2 separate regions of the Homo sapiens genome follow, and region 1 is linked to region 2. The links are contacts of gene promoters, found by promoter capture Hi-C in blood cells and fetal thymus (Javierre and others, 2016). All regions are on one chromosome and are shown on one strand. The core of a region is centred on a gene start or on the middle of the fragment in contact, and the rest is flanking DNA. Distances in the headings are between cores, read along the strand shown.

Region 1 (4,990 bases), core at 38-2,537, 120 kb after region 2:
CCCCAAACCACACGACCCCTTGCCCCTACTAGCAGCATGGGATTCTCAGTGCCTCAACATAAAGCCCTACAAACCCCCACATAGTGGAGCTGCAAAGACCTCCCTGCCACCTGCCATGCAGCCACACCCCTGGCCCAACACCTGAGGAAGCTCTTGGTGGGGCCAGCAGAGGTGATGTTGGGGTCCAAGGTATACTTGAACTGTCCGCGTTGAAGCCTCCGCTCCGTGGCCCCAAACCACACAGCCACAGGGAGCGTGGCAGGCGTGGGGCGTGGGCTGGTCTCACACCGCAGTTGTTCTGACTGCTGCTCCGGCAGCCTGGGAGGGGAGGTGGGAATGAATGCAGGGGCGCAGGCAGGGAAAACTTGGACCACTCAGGCCCCAACTGGCTTCCCTCAAGCGCTGACTGCAGTCTCCACCAGGTGTCCCTGGAGGTGCACTCCCACCACAGCTGGCTAGGGAGGGTCTGGCCACTCTCTGAAGGAGCAGACTGGCCCTCTTCCCCTTTCTGCTCTCCCCAGGATCTCAGACCCCTCCATCTTTCCCCTGGAGCAGATGGATTTTTGCAGGATGAGGAAGTGGCCCTCACAAGTGACAAGGCTGGTCTCCAACCACCACTCGGATGTCCTCCAGCCGCCCAGTCAGGAGCTTGGAGCCATTCAGGGTGAGACGGGTGCCCCCAGCTCTGGGGCCGCGGGCCGGGAAGATGGAATGGACCTTCGGATCCTGTGGGACAGACAGGGAGAGAGATGAGCATCAGACCAGACACATGGAGGCAGGGACAGCCTGAGAGACAGGCTGGCCCAGGACTGGGAGCCCCACCAAGGAATAACCAGATGGGTTGAGAGGAGCCACCAGAGAGGTTGGCCCGCTGGCAGCTGGGGGTGGCTCAGCAGTCAGGTACCTGGTAGGCAAAGTCGTGTTCTGAGACACCACGTCCTCTTCCCGGCACCTCCACCGCTGTGGCGCCGGCCACCTCCTCCCCACTGGCCCCGGTGATGCACACGAGGCTGTAGGCACAGGGCAGGCTAGGGGGTGCCAGGCTGCATCAAGGGCCCCTCAAGCTTACCTGGCAGCCCCTCTCCCTGCCCTACTGTCAGGTGGTCTTCCCCTTCCCATGCTCCATAAGATTGACAGAGACCCTCTCTCACTTTGGAGGGAATTCTTTATGACACATCAGAAGGCCTTGGTATCTGAGAATTAATATTTGTGGCTTCAATCATTTAAGTTCAACCCCAGGGGCCCCCAATAAGGAAGAATTTATCTGTGGCATAAATTTACAAAGGGGCCCTGTCAGCCTGGTTGTGGGGCGAGCTGCTGAGCAAGTGAGTGGGCACAGCTAGCCGCCCATGTCCTCCGCCACGTCACATGCACAGTACCCACTCAAAGCATGGTAGAAACTTGATTTATTCAGGAAAAAGAGTCCCTGAAAGCCTCTAGTCAGACAGGGAAATACAGGTGAAGGGAAAGTGAACCATCTAAGAAAATGCTGGTTCTTAGCCAGAAAATAGAAGCTTGGGCAAATTAAACTTCCAGAGTGTTAAGCCTGCAGTGGCTCAACTCAGTGACATTGTCACAGTTGTTGCAAACACTAGGAAGACACAAGTGACGTGTGAGCCACCCAGGGGAGGCTCCAGACAGAATATATGCTAATTGCTTCATAAATCACAGCAGTCTTATGGTCTGGAACACTAACAGTCTAGATAGTCACCGTAAGTTCTCGGTCATAACACATTCAGGGGACACTCCGTGCTCCAGGAGAGTGGTTCCTTGTTTCAAATACAGATTTGGGGGCCCCACCGTGGGCCTCCTGAATCCAGATGTTTGTGTTGGTTTGGGACAGGATCTGCAGGTTACCCTGATATTCAGCCACGTTTGGGCCCTGCTGCTTATGGACATCTCCTTAGGAATGTCCTGCGTGTGTACCTTTGGGGCCTGCAACCGCTGGCCAGGTTACCATAACCCAGGAGCCCCAGGAAGGCAGCAGGGGTCCCTAGAGACGACAGTGGAGCCTGGCCCTCGGCCAGTGTGCCTTTCTGAGGTGTGCCTTCCAAGTCTACCTTCCTGAAGAGCCTGGCAGCCCAGGACAATGCCTGGGGAAGAGTGAGCTGGTGAGAAGGCCAGCCCCTGAGCTTATCTGTCTGATCTGAGGGTCCTGCTGCCACAGCTATTAATATATCCACAGTCCCTCAGAAGACCAGGTGAGCAGAGCAGGAAGCAGAGCCACGAGTCAGTTCTGGGCAGTGACGGGCCCAGGAAGGATTCCCCAGCAGCCCAGGCCAGGAACCTACAGGTGTGGTGGGTGCTCAGGGTCTTCAGTGGCAACGCTGGCACTCGGGCATTGTGGCCAGGATCAAGGAACAGGGAGAGAGGGGGGCAGATGAGCGGTGGGTGGGAGGCCCCAAGCAGCAACGCCAACCGCGGAGGCCCCAGGCTGCGCCGTGCTCCTGCTGGGTGCAGCCAGCTTACCTGCTGGAGACCTCGTACTCCTGGGCATCCACAGCACAGGGCACTCCAGCCACCGTGACCATGCCCAGCACATCCTGCACATGCTGGCCCAGGTTGGAGCCCCTGATGGTGACACGGGTGCCTCCGTCTACAGGCCCAGTCAGTGGCTCCACCTGTTCCAGGACAAGGACTGCTCACCTCTACTCAACTGGAAAGGCAGCCCCAACCTCCCACCTTTGGGCCCCCACACCCTCCCTCTAAGGGCAGCACTGAGGAAGGGATGGCCAGCCTTTCAACAAACCGAGTGGATGAGGGGCGCTGGGCACTGGGTGGCCACAGCCTCAGCCTCACCACAGGCCTCCCGGGTCACACAACGTGGACGCTCCCCCTCACACCACACACAGCCATACTGGGGCATGGCAGTTTGGCAGCGGCTGCAGTCTCCATGTCCCACGGAACAGTCATACAGTACCACTGGGGGTGGCAGAGACACACGTGAGAGGCAGGCCTGGGAGAGCCCTGCTACCACCGCCAGCCCAGCAGCCCGCAGGTGGCTCACCATGCAGCCCCTCAGCACTGTCCACACGCAGACGGCCGGCCCGACGCAGAAACAGCCCCACACGGAGCTCCGGCTGCAGAGCCTCATAGCTGAGCTGGAGAAATGGGAGTGGGTTCAGAGTCAAGCACTGGGGGAAGTGTCAGGCCTGGGGAGGGGTTAGTCAGAGAAAGGACTAAAACGACCAGTTAGGAGCATAGGGTCAGAGGGACCCCATGGGGCCACAAGTTGGAGGGCAGAGCCAGAAATGGAGTATGGGGACCCCATGGGGTCTCAAGTTAGAGTTCAGAGCTGGGATGCAAGGACTCCACGGGGCACATGGTCAGAGGTCAGAAATGGGTGTGGAGACTCCCTCAGGGCGACACGGTCAGAGCGTGGCTCTGGAAAGTGTGGTGCAGCCAGCTACAGTTGGCAGCCAGCCTGTGGCCAGTGCAGTGCACCCGTGCCCACCCAGGCGCTCATGGTGTGCACCTGGTGCTGCTGGCAGGTGACATGGCACTGGGTATCTGGAGGTGGCTCACACTCGACCCGGGCCTCAACCACCACCTCGAGGCCCTCCAGCTCCATCACACACTCATTGTCTCCTGGGCCATCCTGAGGGCAGAGAACACAGCTGTTGGGCAGCTTCAGGAGCTGGGCCCAGGGAGTCCTGCAGGTCACCCAACAGATCCCCCAGCACAGCTTCTGGGTTGGAGTTGAGCCCTCGGACTCTGCCCTCCTCCTGCTCCCCAGGGCTTGTGCAGAGTTTCTCAACAGCTAAGGAGGCTGCAAGGACAGCGGCAGGCAGGACACACTGACCTGGAAAAGGTGCAGGTTCCTGCCTAGCAGCCGGATTTCCCGCTCCACATGGACCGGCATCAACGTGGAGCCCTGAACGCTCTCCACACAGGGGCAGGAGCTTGCCCCCAAGGTCGCCTCTTCCTGCAGGCACCAAGGGCAAGGCAGTCTATGGAGCCCACCCTGCCCAGCTCAGCCCTCTGCCTTGCCAGATTCCAGAGGCAAGGCCGGTGTGGGGCTGCAGACTCCACCCTGCCCCTCACCTCCTCCCAGTGCAGAATCACAAGGCAAGCTAGGGGTAGCATCTTCCCCACATCCCCTCCCCTGAGGCCTCCTTCCTGGGCTGGGCCTCACCAGCTCCCAGAGCCCGGGGGTGTCATACTGGTAGTCGAGGCTGGACGGGAGGATGAGGGGGGCGGGAGGGCCCTCAAGCTCTGCTGAGTCTCCATCACCTGAGAGGAGGGTGGAAGTGGAGAAGGCGGGTGCGTCACCCCCCGTCCACTCGTCCGCCTCGGGCAGCTCGCCGCCTTCTCTCGTGAGCCAGTCCAGGGCGGGCTTCACGGAGCCCATGGCCCCTGGGAAAGTGGTGGCAGGAACAGTGGCAGGGGGCAGGTCCAGGGGCACTGTGGGATGAAGAGCCTCGGGGCCAGGGTCTGCAGGGGGCACTGCTGCTACCTCTGAGGGTGACAGCGGGGAGGCCAAGAGGTCCTCAGGTGTGGCTGAGGGTCTGAAGTCAGTGGGGGCAGGGACAGCGGTTCCAGGTCCATTTTGGGGGCTGGGAGGGGAGGGCTCCTCATGGAGAGGCGACCCTGTGGAGCCAGGGGAAGATATGGAGCCAGAACCTGCCCATGGCCCCCAGGGGCTGAGCAGGGAAGGACTAGCCCCAGGTGAGATGTCCGAAGCTGTGGCTGTGGAGGGAGCCCCAGGCTCCACGGGAAGGGTGTCAGGAGCAGGGGTGGCCAGGGCTTTGGGGGCTGTGGGTGGGGAGGGGCTGGGTCCACCTCTTGCAGGAGGGTCTGGGGAGACAAGCGGGCTCTGAAGGGGGAGGCAGAGGAAGACAGGAAGGGCCACTCAGCAGGCAGGCGCGGGACAGGAGGCAGGCAGGCACAGTGTATGTTAAGAGGAAAGGAGACCAAGGAAAAGAGAAATAAAAACAGCCCATTAATTCTCCACTGGAGAAAACTGCGGGGGAAGGCTCCAGGGGTGTCT
Region 2 (5,397 bases), core at 2,643-5,142:
CTGCACCATAGTGGGCTTACTTAGCAGTGCTACTCAGTTAGTATTTATCAAACTATGGTACACAGAATGTGAAAATGACCCCGAGCCCCACCAAGATTTCCCACCCTAATCTCCAGGACTGTGAATATGATGCAATATGATTATGTTACATTACATAACAACAGGGATTTTGAGGGAAATTAAGGTTACTAATCAGTTGATTCTGCTGTAATCAAAAGGGAGATTATCCAGGTGGGCCTAATTAATCACATGAGCCCTGTGGGATTAGAATTGTGAAGGCTTCTCAATGCCAGGCATTTTCTCTGGCTAGAGGCTGAAGAAGTCAGAGAGATTCAAAGCATGAGAAGGATTCAATGCACTGCAGCTGTCTTGAAGACAGACTGGGCCATGTGATGAGGGATGTGAGTGGTATCTAGAAACTGAAAGGAGTTCCTGCCTGAAGGCCAACAGGGAAATGGCAGCCTCAGTCCTACCATCATAAGAAATCAACTCTGCCAACAACCTGAATGAGTCTGGAAGTGAATTCTTCCCCCAGACCCTCCAGATAAGGACCTGGTCAGCCAATACCTTGACTTTGGCCTTGTGAGACCTTAAGCAAACAACTCAGCCAAGCCTACTGGACCTCTAAACTACTGAACTGTGAAATAACAAATAAGTGTTGTTTTAAGCTCTCAAGTCTGGAGTAATGTGTTATGTAGCAATAGAAACTAACAAATACACATTGTCTTGATATTCGGTTCTATTATTGCTTTGGGTCCTTTCTTACATTTTAGGTCTGCCTCAAGTCTCCAATGGATTCTTAGTCTCCTTAGGTCAGAGTTCATGGCTTCTAGCTTTGCCTCCACAGCATCCAGCACAAGTCTGTGTTGTCAGTCACCATAAATGGCCCAATGGCACCTGAAGCAGTAGCAATTCCCAGGGCATGCGGTAGAGACTTAGGATTCATTCTTACCTCCAGAATCAGTGGATGGGCGACTGCGTCAGGCTTGATCAGGGCTAGAGTGAGCTGGAGAGCCTGAGGGCTTCGCAAGATTGAGGCCATCTCACTCCTGCCATTAGAGAGCTGTATTAGGAACCCTTCAGGACGGCACTCCCAGCCTTCCCTACATTGGAGCCACGCAGCCTTGCAAGCCAACGAGTGCTCTCACTCCTGACACTCATAAAGAACCTGACAGTTTCATCTTAAGGCCATATACATTATTTTAATTGCCCATTTGGGCTCATGGGATCAAGGGAGGGGAGTTGTAGAGGGAGCATTCAAGTTCCCCCGTGGAGTATACAATCTAGTGCAACTGTAAGCCTATGAGGGAATTACCCATTAAAAGAAACTCAAGTTTAAATACTACCTGTCTCTGCCAATATCCCTTCCTAACTTCCTTTTGTATTTTACAGAGGATTTACAATTTATACTCCTAAACAGCCTATCCACAAGGCCTATTCATAATGATGAATTCATCTCTTAAAATCTTCCATCCCATAGTGCTCTCCTATCAAATCTAGAATTGGAAGATTGATGGACAGCAACTGAGGTGCTACCAGGATACCAAAAAGTCTGCTGGATAAACACCATCTCTATTCTAATATTATGGAGAGATCAGGATCTCCTGTGCCCAAATCAAACCTGTTAATACACTCAGCTGTCCTCAGTGGTAACACTGAGGTCAACACACAACTCCAACATCAGGAACAAGTCATAACCATTTTGCATCTGAAACAGTGCCTGACACAAAGGTGCTTGATCAATTTTATTTACTAAATAAACCTATATAGTCTTATTTCTATTCATCTTTGTATTCCTAATGTCTAGCATGGTGTAAGAGCTCAATATTGTAGAAATGATATAATGGACATAAAAGCATTTTATAAACTGGACTAAGGGAATTTTGAGGTCTTTTCCAATTGTGAAATCCGAGTTATACGTGAGAAATTTATCACCTCTGCAGGAGTAAAGACTTTGTCTCAAAATCTTATCTCAATATTATCTCTCATTTGGCCATGTGTAGTGGCTCACACCTGTAATATCAGTACTTGAGGCCAGGAGTTTGACCTGGGCAACAAAGCAAGACCCTGACTCTACTACATATGTGTGTATGTGTGTGTGTGTATATATATATAATATATATGTGTGTATATATATAAAATCATTTGTCGACAAATACAGAGAAGGCTTCCATTAACATAGGCAGGGACAGAGTCTAGACAACATTCTCATTTATCTTATCCTAAAAACTGTCAATCATGTTAAAGGTGGTATTAGAATCTGGCCCAAGCAAAGAAACTGCCATGGTCGCTCCTATTCATGTCCTTTCTACAGCTTTCAACCTGATTTTCCACTCAAACCATAAAGCCACACCCAATCTAACCAGTACAAGATCAGCTAACCCACTCTCCCTAATGCCACAGGTGGTAACACGTCATTTTCAGCAACTGTCTACAGAGACATCCATGACACCTCCCCTCCCTCACTCTTCATATCCACACGATCACCAACTTCTGGCAATTTTCCCTACCTAATATATCTCAAAACCCATACCATTCTCCCATCCTCAACTGCTACCACCATAACTCTAAGACATCATCATTCCCCTCTGGACATCTTGACAGCCTCCTCTTTGGTCTCCCAGTTTCTGTCCTGCCAACCTCTACAATCTCCACACAGCAGCCAAAGTGAACCACACATGAAAATCTAATCATATGGTTCCCCTCCTTAACCCTTTAAAGGGCACCCTGTTCTTAGAATAAAAACCAAAATCCTTATCACGGCCTCCCAGGCTCTGCATGATCTTGTGGTTCCCCACGTACCTCTCTAGCCTCATCTGGAACCCCACACTCCTTAAGTTTCTCTAGCTCCAACCTCATGGGCCTTTCAGTTTTGAAAGAATTTCTGGCTTGACAGCCTTTGTGTGAGTAGTTTTCGCAGTCCTGAATGTGCTTTCTCTGGTTGCCTCCTGCCCACCTTAGTGATCTTAGCTCACTTCCCGTTACACTTTCTCACAGCTCCTTGCAAGTTCCCTTCAGTTCCGTCTTCACCACCAGAAGGTGTAAGCAGTACCTAGCACACAGCTGGCTCTTAACAGTATCTGAATGAACCAACGAATGCACCTCATCCAGCCATTCCAAGGCCAGGCTGCTAGGGGTTCTCGTGGCAAGAACACGCGGCCTGTAGGGAGGACATGGTTCCTTTACTAACGCAGCTAAGTTGTGGCTGTCTTGACTCTTGGTTTACAACAAACTGACAAGTCGAGAATCCTGTTAGACTTAAAGGTGACTCCATGAGAATTAAAAATTTTAGGCAGGGCGCGGTGTCTCACGCCTGTAATCCCAGCACTTTGAAAGACCGAGGCGGGCGGATCACGAAGTCAGGAGATCAAGACCATCCTGGCCAACATGGTGAAAGCCCGTCTCTACTAAAAATACAAAAAAATTAGCCAGGCATAACGGCGCGCGCCTACAGTCACAGCTACTAGGGAGGCTGAGGCAGGAGCATTACTTGAACTCTGGAGGCGGAGGCTGCAGTGAGCCGAGATCGCGCCACTGCACTCCAGCCTGGCGACAGAACCAGACTCCGTCTCCAAAACAAAAAAAAAGTAAAGCTGTCGGTACACTGCCACCCCAGCACTCGAGGGGGCCACCACTCGCTTCCTGGAGGGCGGCGGCCCAGCCCTGGTCCACCCACGCGCGGCCGGGACCTGCGCCCCTACCCCCGTGGCCACGCCCTCCAGCCCCCCGGGCTCACGGCCTCAACTCTCGACCCAGCCCCCTACTTCTCTAGGCCTGCAACCGCGCAGCCCTCACCCCTCGTACCCGGGGCCTAAGCCCACCCCAGATTCTGGGTCATTCGGAGCCCCAGTGCAGCAGAAGTCCGGCTGCGGGTTCACCTTGTCCTCCGGCACAGGGCCCGGCCACCAGGCGCCACGCTGGATAGCCTGCGGCCCTCGCAGGGTCCTTCAGGCGCTCCCTGGGCAGCCCTGCTCGGGGTCCTAGTCCGGTTGCGCCGCGGCGTGAGGTGAGGTGTGAGTTGCCCTGGAGGGTGGCGGGTTTTCCAGGCGCATGCATTTGCCGCGGACGGGACGAGAGGATGAAGCCGTTCTGGGCGCCGGAACTCGCTTGTGGGAACCGCCCCTCGGAAGCCGGCCTGGGCGCCCTCGGAAGCCGGCCTGGGCGCCCTCGGCGGGAGGGAGTGCTGGGCCGGGTGCTGGCGCAGCGCTACGCAGGGTGGCGGAACCCAGAGGACCGGACGGGCTCGTTCAGGGTGGCGGCCCGGCGGGGGCGATGCCCGCCAGCAGAGACACCGATGGAAACCTTGCCCAGTTATTTTCTTTGCCCAGGGTAGTTCCTGGAACATGGTTGATGCCCAGTATTTGTCAAAAGTACGCGGAGGGCAAAGAACTTAAGCGCTCGATAGCGAAGGCACAGGCCCTTCAAAGTCTTTTGAGCTCTGAGCGATACATTAGCATGAAGGATCGTAGCTAATATGGGGGTTGATGAAGGAGGATCCTTGGCTGGAGCCCAGGTGTGCATAGGGCATGAGGAAAGCAAGTCATAACGGCCTTTCACGTGTCATTAGGAATCTGGGCAGCAGGGTGTGGTTTGGGTTACTCTGGAGTCTATTGACGCAGCCCAGGGTGAGGAGATGAGAACTGGGGGTATTCCTGGTGTGTACTGTGATGTATGGAGAGGATGGGGACAGGGAGAATGGATCGGGGGTCAGCTGTGGCAGGTGACCAGAAACTTGGTGACAGGTTGAATAAAGATGGTTAAAAAAAAAAAAAGTGTTTTGGTTTCTTGGGTTTTTTTTTTTTTTTTTGAGGGAAATCACTGAGAATGAGAAGAATGAAAATAAACGATAACTGTCATCAATGTAAAGACTTACTTGCACATTTAACTGACTTCGGTGTCTGCCTACACAGGTGTTGCCCTCTTGGAAGGTTTATCCCCAACTCATGGCTTCTGTCCCTGCAGCAATAAGAAGCCACTTCCCAATAGTTTCCTGATACCCAGTCACCTTTGGGAACTTACGAGGAAAGTTTTTCCAGTCTCTCCGCAGACCCTTGCATCTCTTCTCTTTTTGTTTAGACCCTTGACCACCACCCCCTATTCTAATCTTAACTCCTCTGCTACTCAGTTCCAATCCTAACCCAAGCCCTAGTCCCTAAATTTATAATCCTTTAATCCTAGACCTGGTCTCTAGATCCTGAGCCCTTGATGCTTATCTTCTAACCTCCTAATCCCAACCTCAAATCCCTAAACCTCAACCCATGAATTCTGACCTGATTCTCAAACCCCAGGCCCCCAACCCTGACTCCAAAAATGACAACCCATTACTTCTCCCTACACGGAATCACTGACGGAGTTGTAGCAACTGAATCTGCAGTAGGCCAAAGGACCCAGTGAGTT

What was found. The method cuts DNA at HindIII sites, captures the fragments that hold promoters and counts their contacts. A CHiCAGO score of 5 or more calls a contact.
Region 1: a contact is called between a fragment that was not itself captured here and the fragment with the promoter of NME6 in region 2, in 4 of 17 cell types (megakaryocytes, endothelial precursors, M1 macrophages and 1 more). The highest score is 6.5, in megakaryocytes.

The regions. Positions count from the first base shown.
Region 1 is chr3:48,415,442-48,420,431 of GRCh38, forward strand. It overlaps PLXNB1 (plexin B1), which reads right to left. Exons shown (of 38, transcript NM_001130082.3): 11 at 4,136-4,816; 12 at 3,803-3,925; 13 at 3,476-3,598; 14 at 3,008-3,101; 15 at 2,750-2,922; 16 at 2,470-2,621; 17 at 905-1,010; 18 at 590-726; 19 at 142-318. Among named protein-coding and RNA genes, the nearest start is that of PLXNB1, 12 kb to the right of the region's middle. The HindIII fragment of the contact is 450 bases long and covers 1,063-1,512 here.
Region 2 is chr3:48,297,475-48,302,871 of GRCh38, forward strand. NME6 (NME/NM23 nucleoside diphosphate kinase 6) reads right to left here and starts at 3,893. Exons shown (of 6, transcript NM_001308426.2): 1 at 3,879-3,893; 2 at 953-1,049. The coding sequence starts at 1,042. RefSeq lists silencers at 3,596-3,795, 4,096-4,315 and an enhancer at 3,876-4,005. The HindIII fragment of the contact is 12,296 bases long and covers 1-5,397 here.